Regions from separate parts of the Homo sapiens genome. Here region 2 is linked to region 1. Evidence: promoter capture Hi-C in human tissues and cell types (Jung and others, 2019). All regions are on one chromosome and are shown on one strand. The core of a region is centred on a gene start or on the middle of the fragment in contact, and the rest is flanking DNA. Distances in the headings are between cores, read along the strand shown. Region 1 holds the start of ZNF30 (zinc finger protein 30). Region 2 overlaps ZNF302 (zinc finger protein 302).

Region 1 (7,005 bases), core at 2,935-5,434:
TAGCCTGGGTGACAGAGCGAGACTCAGTCTCAAAAAAAAAAAAAAAAGAAAAAAAGAAAAAAAAAAGTAATGATTTTATACTTATAAACGAAGACTGTAACAAATGCCTCAGTTTTCCCCAGTTCTGGTAATCTGTTCATCTACTACTGATAACAATATGCTGATAGTGTCATACAAGATCCTTCACTTAATACTTTGGCTGCTGTTTTTTTAAATTTTTTTTTGAGACACAGTCTCACTGTGTTGCCCAGTCTGTAGTGCAGTGCTATGACCATAGCTCACTGCAATCTTGAACTCCTGGGCTCCAAGTGTCCTTCTGTCTGAGGGTCCCAAGTAGTTAGGACTACAGGCATGTGCCCCCATGCCTGGCTAATTAAAAAAAATTTTTTTTGGTAGAGACAGGGTCTTGCCATGCTGCCCAGGCTGGTCTTGAACTCCTGGGCTCAAGTGATCCTCCCACCTGGGGCTCCCAAGGTCCTGGGTTTACAGGTGTGAGCCACTGCACCTGGCCATTTGGCTGTTCTTGAGTTAGTGGATTAGGGTGAAAATGACTCAGAACCAAATGCATGTTGTCCAAGTCTGGCAGGTCCCATTCCATAACAAAATTGACCTTAGTATCACTCTCAGGCATCCCAAGAAGAACCATGATATCAATGTTTCACATCATAATCACATCCCCACTCAATCTTAAAAGCCTCATAGAGCATGTTATCTCATCATATTGAGACCAATCAATACAAAATTCCATCTTATCAGCTCTGTGGAAAACTTCAAATCTTCTGATGTGTGGCCAGATGAAGCCAACAGATCAAACTCATCAAACCACAGATGGATGTAGGAAGCTCAAATACTTCTGCCACGGGACTTCAATCCTCCACTGCTCTATCACAGCCTTTCAGCTAAGACTTACTATTTACCTGCTTCGTAACTTGCTCAATGAATTCATGAACACCGATTAGAAATGAGGACCTCGTAAGGAGGAAACGATACTTTGACATCATTCCGCCAAACAGAAGGAATCAAGTAGGCAATTAGATGGTACATTCTGATGAAGAATGCTTCAGGTCAATTAAGGAAAATAGCCACGTAATATAAAAATCCCCATATTTCAAGAAGAAACACCAACTTACATGGGCCATGCTTTGAGAATTGTAAGAACTGATCAGTCTTCACTGGGGTTCCTCTATCTGAGAAGTTCAAAAGCTAGAAAATCCAGAGAGGAGAAAAGGAGGCTTTAGTGTTCTCAATGACATACATTAATAAACCTTCCTGTCCCTTCATTTCAGCTTCCAAACTGTGCTACAAACACCCTCAAACAAAATTTGGAGAACAGTGGAATTCAAGCCCCAGTTAACTAAGCTGTACAGAGTTGATCGCAGAGGTGTGGCACTTCTTAAGGAAGGCAGAATCAGACACAAGCTTTCCCACCAGGCCCCCATTTTGGGAATGTTGATCTAGGTCTCAAATTGGGTTGCACAGTCTTCTCTTGAACAGATTCTCCTCACTCCATTCCCACGTTCTAAGCCTAAGAAAGAGTCCATATCACCCAATCCAGAGCTTCTTTAATGGTGACAGTATAAATCTGAGGTTGGTCAAGACACGGGAGGTAGAGAACATAGGAGAAAATGATCAGGCAGTTACTAATATGGCTCAGTTTTCTCATCACTAAAATAGTAATAGGAGTATCAGCTCCAACATGTGGTTGTCCTGAAGAATAAGAAAACCCACCCCAAAAGTTAATAGAATACTTGCTTAACATGAGTTGGCTCTTTTGTTTTGTTTTGTTTTGTTTTATTTTTTGAGACGGAGTCTCGCCCTGTCACCCAGGCTGGAGTGAGTGCAGTGGCGCCATCTTGGCTCACGGCAACCTACGCCACCCAGATTCAAGTGATTCTCCTGCCTCTGCCTCCCTCCCGAGTAGCTAGGACTACAGGCGCATAGTCACGCCCAGCTAAGTTTTGTATTTTTAGTAGAGACGGAATTTCACCATGTTGGCCAGGATGGTCTCCATCTCCTGACTTCGTGATCCGCCCGCCTCAGCCTCCCAAAGTGCTGGGATTACAGGCGTGAGCCACCGCGCGCAGCCGAGTTAGCTCTTACTATGGTAGCTCCCTCTTATCCACAGGGGGGAGATACACTCTAAGATCCTCAGTAGATGTCTGACGGAACCCCATATATACTATGTTTTTTCTTATACATACACACCTATGATTAAGTTTAATTTATAAATTAGGCACCATAAGAGATTTTTATTTTTCTGTTTGTTTGTTTGTTTGAGACAGGGTCTCACTCTGTTGCCCAGGCTGGAGTGCAGTGGTGTGATCTTGGCTCACTGCAACCTCCACCTCCTGGGAGCCTCCCAAGTAGCTGGGATTACAGGTGCCCACCACCACGCCTGGCTAATTTTTGTATTTTTACTAGAGACAGGGTTTCACCATGTTGGCCAGGCTGGTCTCGAACTCCTGACCTCAATTGATCCACCCATCTCAGTATCCCAAAGTGCTGGGATTACAGGCGTGAGCCACCGCACCCGGCCACCATAATTGAGTAATAGCAATAACTAATAATAAAATAGAACAACTATAATAGCATACTGTAATAAAAGTTATGTGAACATGGCCCCTCTCTCTCAAAATATCTTATTGTACCAAAATCACCTATTTTCAGATCATGGTTGACTGAGGGTAACAAAGTGAAGAAAGTGAAACTGCCGATTAAGGGGGCACTACTGCATTGGAGTTATTACGTAAACATTATACATCCTTTATTTCATTTTAATTAAACACTTGTTTCCACTTAATTTAATTTATGTATCTATCTATCTATCTATCTATATATATATATATATATATATATATATATATATTTTTTTTTTTTTAGAGAAGGGATCTCGCTCTGTCGCCCAGGCTGGATTGCGGTGGTGCCATCTCCACTCACTGCAACCTCCGCCGCCTCCCAGCTTCAAGCACTTCTCCCACCTCCGCCTCTCAAGTAGCTGTGACTACAAGCGCACGCCACCATGCCTGGCTAATTTTTATATTTTTAGTAGAGACGGGGTTTCACCATGTTGCCATGTTGGTGGTCTCGAACTCCTGAGCTCAGGCAATCCACCCGCCTCAGCTTCCCAAAGTGCTGGGATTACAGGCATGAGCCATGGCACCCGACCTGTTTCCACTTTTTACTTAAAACGTAAGTTTCTCTGGCATGCTTTCTTTTAATTCTAACTAAAAAATTAAGAGCAACTCTTCTTTAAAAACAAACAAATAAAAAACCAACAGAAAAGATTCTCTGACATTTCAATTTCCTCTGTCCCCTAGCAGCTAGAGAGAGAGAGCTACTGCTGTGGGATAATGCAAAATTGAAGAACCTTAAGAAAAAGCTGGGTCCTATTTCTGTGCAATATGGAGATTGATGGAAATGTTTACAGCTGTCATCTTGCTCTCCTTTCTTACATAATTTTGTCATTAGTTAAGTAATCTGCACAACAGATCCTTTGAAGTCCTTTTCCCTGCACTGATAATTTTCAGATGACATTGCTCTCATCTTTAAAAGGTGTAAATACTTTATACAGTTTTTTCCAAACAAGAAGAGGCTTCCTGGCAATCCCATTTCTTCCCGCTGCATGCAAAAGGTATCATAACTATCGTTTCCTTTTTAAACTGAGAGTTGAAGAGTCTTTTGCTCCTTTACATAAATCAATTACAGTGATTTTATCCAAAATAGTAACAAATATTAATAGCTCAGGTTCGCATGGAGGCCATGCACCCAGTCTTCGCGGATGCACACCGGCCCCGGCCGACGCACCCTCCCTGCCCTGCCGCTCCCGCACTCGCCGGCCCGGGATCCTCGCCCGGTCCACCCAACGCTCACGCATGTCTCAGTCCGGGTTCCGCGCCGACACAGGTCTGCAGAGCTCCCGGTGCTGTGTTCGTTTGCAGAAATTCAAGTTGCCCGGCGGGGCTGCTCCAACCTCGGAGCTGGGCGCTGACTTCTCCCTCGATGAACTCCAAAGCTCGCTGCCGGGTCAACGACCACAATGAACTGGCGAGGAGGCAGAGATTGAGGTCGTTCCAGTGGCCGCTGAGAAATGTAGTTTCAGGCTACATTGGCCGGATAGCTGCAGCCTCTGGGAAATGCAGTCCTGAGCCGTCACACCGCCGAGCATGCCCGGCGCAGTCCACAAGGCCGCCCACCGGCGCCCGGAGACTTCTGGGCGCTCCCGTCCGGCTGAGAATGCGCAGGCGCAGGCGCTCGAGTTGCTGGGAGCCATAGACCTCGAAGCTGGGGCGTCTGACACCTGAGGCCCGAAGTAGGTGGCCAGCTTCTTAGAGGGCCAACCCAGGGCATTAACACACCAGGTCAGAAAAAGCAAAAACAAAAACAAACAAAAAATGATAATCTATACCAAAATATGTTATTACTTTAACACAAAAATATGAAAACTAGGTGTTTGAAATTATCTTTCCGTACTGTTTGCTTTTCGCTACAGAAATGCTATTATTTAACAGAATATTAATAGGATTAATAGTGGCAATTAGACTAATCACGTGTGAGAAAAATATATTTCTGTCCTCTGATACAGGAATTTTAAGTTTCTATTAAATATTTAAATTTTGTGGGTTCTATCTAAGATGCTAAATGTAAGACCTTTTAAAAGGAGAATGTAAATAAGGCTAATCAAACAGATATTAACTATATGTAATAGGCATTTATCTTTCTGTCCCATCATACGTTTAGGAGATATTTACTCTTTCTGGTTCCTTTTCCAGTAACACCTCTCTGTATTAGCTGCCTGTAGCCTTTATGGCATTCTTCTTTTGGTTTATGTAATGCTAAAACTGAATACAGGCAAACGTGAAATTCACCTTGACTGTCAGCTCCGCTTTTTGTTTGTTTTGTTTTTGTTTTGTTTTGAGACAGGGTCTCCCTCTGTCGCTCAGACTGGAATGCAGTGGCGCTATCTCGGCTTACTGTAACCTCTGCCTCCCAGGTTCAAGTGATTCTCCCACCTCGGCCTCCAGAGTAGCTGAGACTACAGGGGCGCGCCACTACACCTGGCTAATTTTTGTATATTTTTTGTAGAAATGGGGTTTTGCCATCTTGCCCAGGCTAGTCTCGAACTCCTGGGCTCAAGCGATCCACCCGCCTCAGCCTCCCAAAGTGCTGGGATGACAGGGTGAGCCACCGCGGCCAGCCGAGCTCTGTTCTTATTAAGCCCACATTACAGTGATTCCTGGAGTCAGTCCAGGGTGATGACATTGATAAGGAGGTGGGGAAGGGGAGTGCTGGGGAGGGAAGGGCGGGGTCCCTTTAAATGATATGGAAGGGGGAAAGGGAGGTGCTGGGTACAGGAGGGTGTGGTCCCTGGCTAGGGCTCCACCCCTGGCCCTGTGCCAACTGACCTAGGTGAGGGCAGGCATTTTTGTTTTCCTGCCCAAATGTTGCGTTTCCCAAGACCACCCTGGCCTGCCACGCCCCCATCCTGTTCCCGCCCCCATCCTGTCCCTATAAATACTCTGAGACCCTAGCAAGCAGACACACAAGCCGCTGGACATCCAGAGGAACATGTTGGCGGAAGAAGACATGACAGACGCTGGCACGCGGGCAGGCCACCCACCAGAAGGACGCGGAGTTTGGCTGGGGCAGTCCAAGGAGAGCCGGTGCTGCGGAGCAGCCCGATTCCAGGGGAAAACCATTTCCCTTCTGGCTCCCCCAACTGTTGAGAGCTACTTCCACTCAAAACCCTGCAGTCATCCTCCAAGCCCATGTGTGATCTGATTCTTCTGGTACACCAAGACAGGAACCCCGGGATATGAAAGCCCTCTGTCCTTGCGATAACGCAGGGATCTAATTGAATTGACTAACATAAGCCGCCTGCGGACAGCTAAAGAGCATCCTGTAACACGCCCACTGGGGCTTCAGCTATAAACATTCACCCCTAGACACTGCCATGGGGTCAGAGCCCCACAGCCCGCCCGTCTGTATACTCCCCTGGAGGTTTGAGCAGCGGGACACTGAAGAAGCGAGCCACACCCCCATCGCACGCCCTGCCAGGGGGACAAGGGAACTTTTCTCTTATCAACATCAACCTAAGTAGCCTCGCATCAAAAGCATTTGACTGTCAATAGTTAGGATTTTCCCTACCAGCAGTAGCAAGTTTTTAGCCTTATTGGAATTAGTTTCCAGCTCTGCAAAAATGTTCATCTGCTTTGTAACTCCAGGCTTTTTTGGTAGAGCAGCTGTTTGTTGACCAGTCGCTTTGCCTCTGTAAGTTCACCATATAGGCTATTCATGTCTAAAGTGTTCATTTTCAAACCCTCTGAAACTCATTGGGTATCTATTACAATGTCTGAAGACAAATATTTCATTAACAAATAAGAAGGTGATAGACCTGGAGTGAGAATCCACCCAATTCATGTCAATCGGAGACAAATTTGCAATATCCTGTGATTCCTGAACTGGCTGTGGTCACTGATCACTTCTGTCCTGGAGGAACTAGAGACATTCAAGACAAATAAGGACTCATCTAGTCCCCTGATTAAAGGACTTTTCATAGAGGCTGCATTAAGGGCCAAATTATGTACAATGTGCTCTCTGAGATGGGGATGTGTAAATAGCCGTCAAAATGTCATCTGGGCAGAAATTTGTTTGGGAGGATAAATTTATGTTCAGGGGTGAGGGGTGAATACAATAGAAATTTGTATTTTGCAGAGGGAAATGTGGGTTCCATGGTGGGTAGAAATAAAATAGATTAGTAGAATACTTAGAATGTCAAAGAAATTTTTAAATCATAGGGTTTTTTTTTTGAGAAAATTTTTGAAATGATTTTGAAATGATTTATTCAAAAAGTGCCCCTCAAAAGTGATCACTCCATAGATGACAGCTAAGGATCGCAATCTTACTGCTATGCCCTTGTGTTTTGAGTGAAGACTTGTGTGACTATAGTGAGGGTCTAGGTGTTTAATCGTCAGAGGTAAATTGGAGATTTCAGATGAGGCTGTCTCA
Region 2 (7,005 bases), core at 3,516-6,015, 240 kb after region 1:
ATCCCCCAGTCTCACATACTTGGACTCTCAACCACATGGCTGTGGCACACTGACATGGAAGATCGTGGAATCCTGGGATTCTTCAGGCCTTCTCTTCCTGCTGATAGGGTCACTGTCTGTCCAGAGTCCTAGAGTTACATCAAGTATTACAAGAGAAAATTCCTCTTTCTAGAAATCAGTGGTATGTGGTGGGGAAGTATGAACTACAACTTCTTAGTACCCCCCACCATTCACGTACAGCAGCATGTGCAGATCCTCAGGAGAGGCATCGCCTGCAGAATCCAGAGACATGTTTGGATCGTGCTGTGCCCTATCTCAGGGCTGTGGCCTTGTGCAAGCTACCTTGCTACCTTTCACCTCCATTTTCCTAAGGAAGGCTTAAAGGGGAAATATTAACCATCATTCATTCTAGGTGAGAGTACCAGAGATGGCTAATGTTTAATGTGTGTTCCCAGTGCCCAGCACCATTCAGGGACATTCTGGATGCTATTTCTAAAGAGAAACAGTCCTAGAAATGCATCCTCTACTCCATCTTCCTTTGCTCACTGCTCTCCTGCCAAGCTGTCCTGATCATTCCAAGCTCTTTCCGACTTCCCAGTCTTTCCCTCTGCCTGGGACACTGAGTCCAGATCTCTGCAGTGCCTCTCCCTCTCCTCTCCTCCTTTGCATCCTTCCCTGTTCTGCACCAATGTCACCTAGTAGGAGAGTCTTTTTTTTTTTTTTTCGGCCTTGCTGGTTCTAGGTTAAGTATTTCTCATCTTCTGGAATCTTTGTGCAGGGAATGTGGCACACGTACAAAAGTAGAGATCAGGACTTGGTTGGGTTTTCCAGGGTGGTGTGGGAGCAAAGAGGCTAAATAACAATAATAGCTACATTTATTGAGCTCTGAGGGTAACTCGTTATGTAGCACCATTATGTAGCACTTCATTTAATCCCAATTTTCTCAGAGTTAGTTTCTATTATTCCTGCTTTACAGAAAAGGAACCTGAGATTTGGAAAACTTAAGTTACCTTCTCAGGGTCACGCAACTCTTGGCAGAAACTCACACCCTGTACTTTGATCCCTTGCCTATGTTCTTTTGTCTTCACCACCATTCCTCCTCAGTGGGCTGGAGAAGCCTGCGGTGACACCTGACAAAGATTTTCTTTGACCAAACTCTATCCAGGCCCCTCTGAGCCTTCTTGAATATGCCTGTCAACTGTGGCCTATTGAGACTTGAACAACACTAACATTTTCTAATGACTCCTAAAGTGCCTTTCCAAAAAACTCAAGGCTGTCCAAAGAATTTCTTCCAGCCAGCACCTGAAGATAAGGCCCCTGTCTCCCAGCCTCTGTGGGAGGATATGAGCCTAACTCAAAAGTGCCAGTAGCAAACCCAGATAAGACTGCACATAGACCAGCCCCCTCCCTTCCTAATTTTTCACTTTTCTGACTCCACTGAACCGCTCCTCACCACCCCCTATTTCTTCACCCTCCCTTTAACATACTCATTTACCTTTGTACAAATCAAAGCTTAGTTGACTTCATGCCAAATTCCTTTCCCCATTGCAATAGTTATCAATTAGTCTGTTCTTACCACTGTCATTAATGTCCAGCTTTGTTCGTCTTTGACACACCTAGTGAGCTTTGCAAGGTAGGCAGGCCTCCCTTGGCAGGTAAGCGTGGTAATAAATGGGGTATGGGACACATTCTAGGCAGAAGGAGCGGCATGGCCAAAGGAAATGTTTTTTGTTCAGTGAGGCAAGAGAGCCTTATGGTTGCCAAGAGAAATCCCAGTCTTCTGAGATCTGTCCTAGAAGGGCAATATTGTGTGGTCTTTTACTAAATGTTCAAATGTAGCCTATATTCCTAAGATGTGTGACTCTGAGAGAGACTCACTCAGCTCACTAGCACAAAGATGATTATGGCATTTACCTTACAGTATGTGGGAAGATTATTGAAAGCAGGAAAAACACGGCAACAAACTTCCATGCAGAGGCACTTTGTTGCTTGCTTTATATATCTTTTAATTCTCACAACCACCTGATGAGAAATATTTTTGTTTTGATGGAGACATCGGGAAATGAAGTGACTTCCCCAAGTGTATAGAATAAGCAAGCGACAGTCCCAATAGGCTGAATTCACACCTAGCAATTTGTGTCCAGAGCTGACAGCATTTAATTGTCTGAATGCAGCACACAAAGCAAACACAAGGCGCAGTGGCTGCTGCTATTAACGGTATTGTATTATGATCATTATAGTTTTTCCCTATTTCTTTGATGCCAGAGTGCTTACCCTCAGCACCTCTCGGGCCATACGGGCCACACGGCCTTGTCATTGTCTTGTATCTTCCATTAATTACTTCTGCATATAAAGCTTTTTTCCTCTAACACAATTGCAATTTGTTTAAAAACTGACTCCCCCTCAGCAGCAAAGAATTAAGCTCCCAGGAAGTGCTCAGTGATATGTTCATTGGTTCTTTCTAGATGTTTACCAGCAACTGAGTTCTAATCACATTTGACTGGCCCAAGGCTAACAAGAAAACTCTGACTTTCCAGGCATCGGTGACCTTCAATGACAGGCTGTAACCTCCATTCAGGAAGAGTGAGGGCAGTGGCACCCAGCCCATGGGACTCTGTACTCAGAGATGATGCCAAAGACCTGTAGTCTTCTGGTCTCAGTGGGTAAACCCTCCCCTTTCCTCCATGTGGAAGCCTGATGCCTCCTTCACTCGGCCCATTTTCCAACTCTGTAGGGCATCCTTCTTCCTTCTCAGAGACCTGCTGAATTCTCATCTCATCTCCTATCTGGTCTCTTTGTTTCTCCTTAGGTTATTTTGGGCAAGAAACATTCCCTCAAAATGGCTCAGATACTAAAGGATTTGTTGGAAGGAAACGGGGGTGTTTTGTAAATGCTCTCCCCCAAAAATGTGAAACAGTAAACAGATAAGAGTGGCAAGTGATTAGATGTGACATCTGAGACCAGAATAATGAAGCAACCATGAGAAGACGATGATGATGAAATCAATAGCTATAGCTAATACTTACTGAATGCTATTGAGAGGCCAGGCATTGTTGTAAACATTGTGCATCAATTAACTCATTTAACTTTCATAATAATGCTGTGAAATAGGTTTATTACCATTTTACAGATGGAGAAACTGCAGCATGACCCAGTGAAACAGTTTGTCCAAGGTCACAAAGCCAGTATACATGTAACTTGGATTTAAACCCAGGTAACAAGACTCCAAAGCTTAATGCTCTTCACACACACACATCTCGAAGCTCTTAAGGAGTATGGAGTGTTTCTTAAGTCCACAGAAGATGCTCAAGAAATGGTTAATAGGTAAGATTGAGGAAACAATATGTTGTCAGTGACACCATAACATTATTATTATATTCTGGACAAACAGTGTTAGTGTCCCCTAAGAACGTGTGAAAAATGCAAATTCAAATCAACTCATACAGAAACTCTAGGACTGAGGCTTAGCAATCTGTGCTTTAACACGTCCTTCCAGTGATTTCGACACAGCACTAGAGCTCAGAACTACTAGATTCCTTTATCCCATCCCTGTGTAATACACATGAGTAATGCTCAGTAAATGTTCTTGAAATGTATTTAATTAAGCCTACTGGATATGGACTCAATAATCCTCACCAAAATACTGCTATTCTTAGTATAAAGAGCAGGCCATTCTTCTCGAAGTTTGCTAGTCTCCCGCTAAAGGCTATACTAAGGCTAATCTTAGTGAAATTTTTTTTTGTCGCAAACAGTCACAGAGAAAGAGTTCATGATATACAAAATGATTTTATTAGATGCCAAATTTTTATTAACACCATTTTATTTCTTTTGCAGCTTTAATTTTTAACATTATAACATTTACTGGCTCCTCTGGGTGACTAAATATCTTCACATGCCCACTAGCTAAAAAGAATTTCTAAGTAGAACTCAACTGAAACTGCAAGCTACTGCTCTAAGAAATGCATACTTATGTTTATTTGCTCTCCTATATAATCCTGTTTACAAATAGCATAACTGCAAAGATTTATATGTAATTTCTAAATCCTTCAGGTTGCTCTACCATTCATCTTCTTATGTCTGGCAAGATAAACACTCTTAGTGAACACTTTGCTGCATCTCTTAAATGAGATTTGTCTCCAGTTTATTTCCTATAGAATAAGGGATGCACTTGGAACTGAAAAATTCCTTCAATTTCTAAAGTTTCCACATTCATACAACTTTTCTCCTGTAGGAGTTTGCAGGAGATTCCTATTGCCTATAGTCTTTCCCACATTTGCTACATGTACACAGATTTTTCCTAGTGTGAGTATACTTAGGTCAATTAAGGGATTAATACTGACAAAGGCTTTCCCACATTTATTGACTTCATATGATTTCTCTACAGTATAAACTCTAATAAAAAAATCTGCATCATTGCTAAAAGTCTCCCATGTTCACCACCTTCATACAACTTTTCCCCAGTATACATTTTTCTGATGTTAAATAAGGGAGGATCTATGAATGAAGTTTACCGTGATAAACACTGCTTCTCTTCTGTAAGATTTCTCACATGTATAGGGATTCATATGATCTAAAGGCTTTTCCACACTTACCACACTATTGGGTTTCTCTCCATTATGTACTCTTTGATGGGCAGTAAGATTCGAGCCTTTGCTAAAAGCTTTCCCACACTCACTACATTTATATGGCTTTTCTCCAGTATGAATTCTCTGATGTACAGTAAGGTTTGAACTACAGCTGAAGGTCTTCCCACATTTAATACATTCGTAAGGTTTCTCTCCAGTATGAATACTGTGATGTTGAAGCAGGGACGACCTATGACTAAAGGCTTTCCCACATATACTGCATTCGTAGGGTTTCAATCTAATGTGATTTCTCAAATGCATATTCAGTGATTCAAGCTGGTTGAAGGATTTCCTGCATTTCTAAACTTCAAACGGTTTTTCTTCAGTATGAATACTCTGATGTTGAACAAGAAATGAGAAGCTACTAAAGACCTTGAGACATTTGTTGCATTCATATTTTTTCTTCATACTGTGAATTCTTTGATGTTGAGTAAGGTGTGAGCTACAGCAGAAAGCTTTCCCACATTCTCTACATTCATAAGGCTTCTCTCCAGTATGGCTTTTCTGATGGTGAATGAGAGACGAACTATGAATGAAGGCCTTTCCACATATACGACACTCATAGCGTTTTTCTTGCGTATGAATTCTTAGATGCTGAATGAGAAGGGACACACGACTAAAAGACTTTCCACAGTTCATACATTCATACGGTTTCTCTCCCGTGTGAGTGCTCTGATGGTTAGTAAGTGATGAGCCATGGCTAAAGGCCTTCCCACATTCAATGCATTTGTAAGGTTTCTCTCCACTATGGCTTATCTGATGTCGTGTAAGGGATGAACCATGGCTAAAAGTCTTCCCACATTCACGACATTCATAGGGCTTCTCTCCTGTATGAATTCTCCAGTGGCGACTGAGGATTGACTGTTTGCCAAAGGCTTTCCCACATTCACTGCATGTATAGATTTTCTCTCTATTACAAGTCTGGGGAAGGGTAAGAGATTTGCTCTGGTTGAAGGCTGCCCCACTTTTATTAGAATTTAAAAGTTTCTTTCCACCATTTATTCTCTCACTTTTTATAACTGACTTTTTTGATAAATTCTTCTTTAATATATCATATTTGTGTGAATTCCCTTCAGCAGAATTGTTTTGTGGTTCAGAAAGAGTAGACTTTGAATGAAAGGTGCTTCTAAATGTGTCGCATTCTGTATATTCCAAATTCTTATTAGAATTTGAAAATTCATAACTTTGTTTTACAACTTTTTCCATTGTTACTGGTTGGGGTGAATCTTCATCATAAATATCCTTCTTTGTTGATAATTCCTTGTTTTCCCATCTTGATTCCCAATCTGAAATATATCAAGAAAGCAAAGCACTGCCTTTTTTTTTTTTTTTTTTTTTTTTTTTTTTTTTTTTTTTTTTTTTTTTTACTTCTTGAAAAAAGCTTCTACAGTGGAATTAGGAGAATTGGATAAGAAATGAAGCACCCAGAAAACACATAGTTCTGACAACTCAAATATTTCAGTGACTTCTGAACAATGCTCAAATAGAGCAGAGAATCCAAAGTTCACAGAAGCAGGAACAGAGTGTGATAAAGGAAATGGGTAAGCTGTACGAAATGGATAAAATAGTATGGAAAAAAGGAAAGTATCAGAAATAAGATGTGGAAGGCATTCAGGATTACAAATCATCATTTTGTGCCTATATTCATGTGGGAAAGGTTGCATTTTGTTTCATAGCCTTTTTTTCCAACCTTCCATTAATCTCAATTTGCTGCTGGATTATCAAGCTTAAAATACAGAATTGATACTACTATATTAAACAACTGCAGTAAAAACAAAGTAAATGCTCTTTATAGCTGACAAAGATATAGGCTTTCTGAGGTTATGAAGAAACTGTGTGAATCATATTTTTCTTGAACATTAGAAAATATTATTCCTAGAAACATTTATATGTCCCTTACTTCCTCTAATATGTTCATATTTCATCTACAAAGCTCAGCTTTAGAAAAGTGATTTTCCATCTAACTGACAGCTTTTCTTAGCTTAAAACTATTAGTATATTTTTCTTAAGTAGAATTAAGAAAGAATAAATTGTCTTACTTTGTCATGAATATAGTAACAATTTGAATTATTATGATGGCAAAAACCTCTAACCTTGATTAGGTGACATGAGTGATACAGATAATAATTTGAGAGGGAGGAACAATTGTTTTGAAAATCTAAGCTAAATATCCCTCAATTTTTCATTTCTATCTGAGATCTTTGAAGACAGTATCCCTAAAATGCTTCCACACTCACTATAAACATCTTTAACAAAATCTTCCTTTGTCTCGTTCACCATGACTCATGTGGAATCATACCTTTTGACAGTTTTTTCTCCATCATCCAGGGCTCTTTTCCATCCTCCAATAACATGATCACATATGGCTTAGTTACGGAAA

The links. Contacts are between HindIII fragments. The study calls those that stand out against the background at their distance.
Region 2: a contact is called between a fragment that was not itself captured here and the fragment with the promoter of ZNF30 in region 1, in 1 of the 25 tissues and cell types used here (hippocampus).

Annotation. Positions count from the first base shown.
Region 1 is chr19:34,924,082-34,931,086 of GRCh38, reverse strand. It overlaps ZNF30 (zinc finger protein 30), which reads right to left and starts at 4,184. Exons shown (of 5, transcript NM_194325.3): 1 at 3,871-4,184; 2 at 1,131-1,203. The coding sequence starts at 1,139. ZNF30-AS1 (ZNF30 antisense RNA 1) reads left to right here and starts at 4,261. Exons shown (of 3, transcript NR_110749.1): 1 at 4,261-4,358. The HindIII fragment of the contact is 21,653 bases long and covers 550-7,005 here.
Region 2 is chr19:34,683,158-34,690,162 of GRCh38, reverse strand. It overlaps ZNF302 (zinc finger protein 302), which reads right to left. Exons shown (of 5, transcript NM_001289187.2): 4 at 6,925-7,005; 5 at 3,767-5,911. The coding sequence ends at 4,926. Among named protein-coding and RNA genes, the nearest start is that of ZNF302, 9.0 kb to the right of the region's middle. The HindIII fragment of the contact is 3,944 bases long and covers 2,794-6,737 here.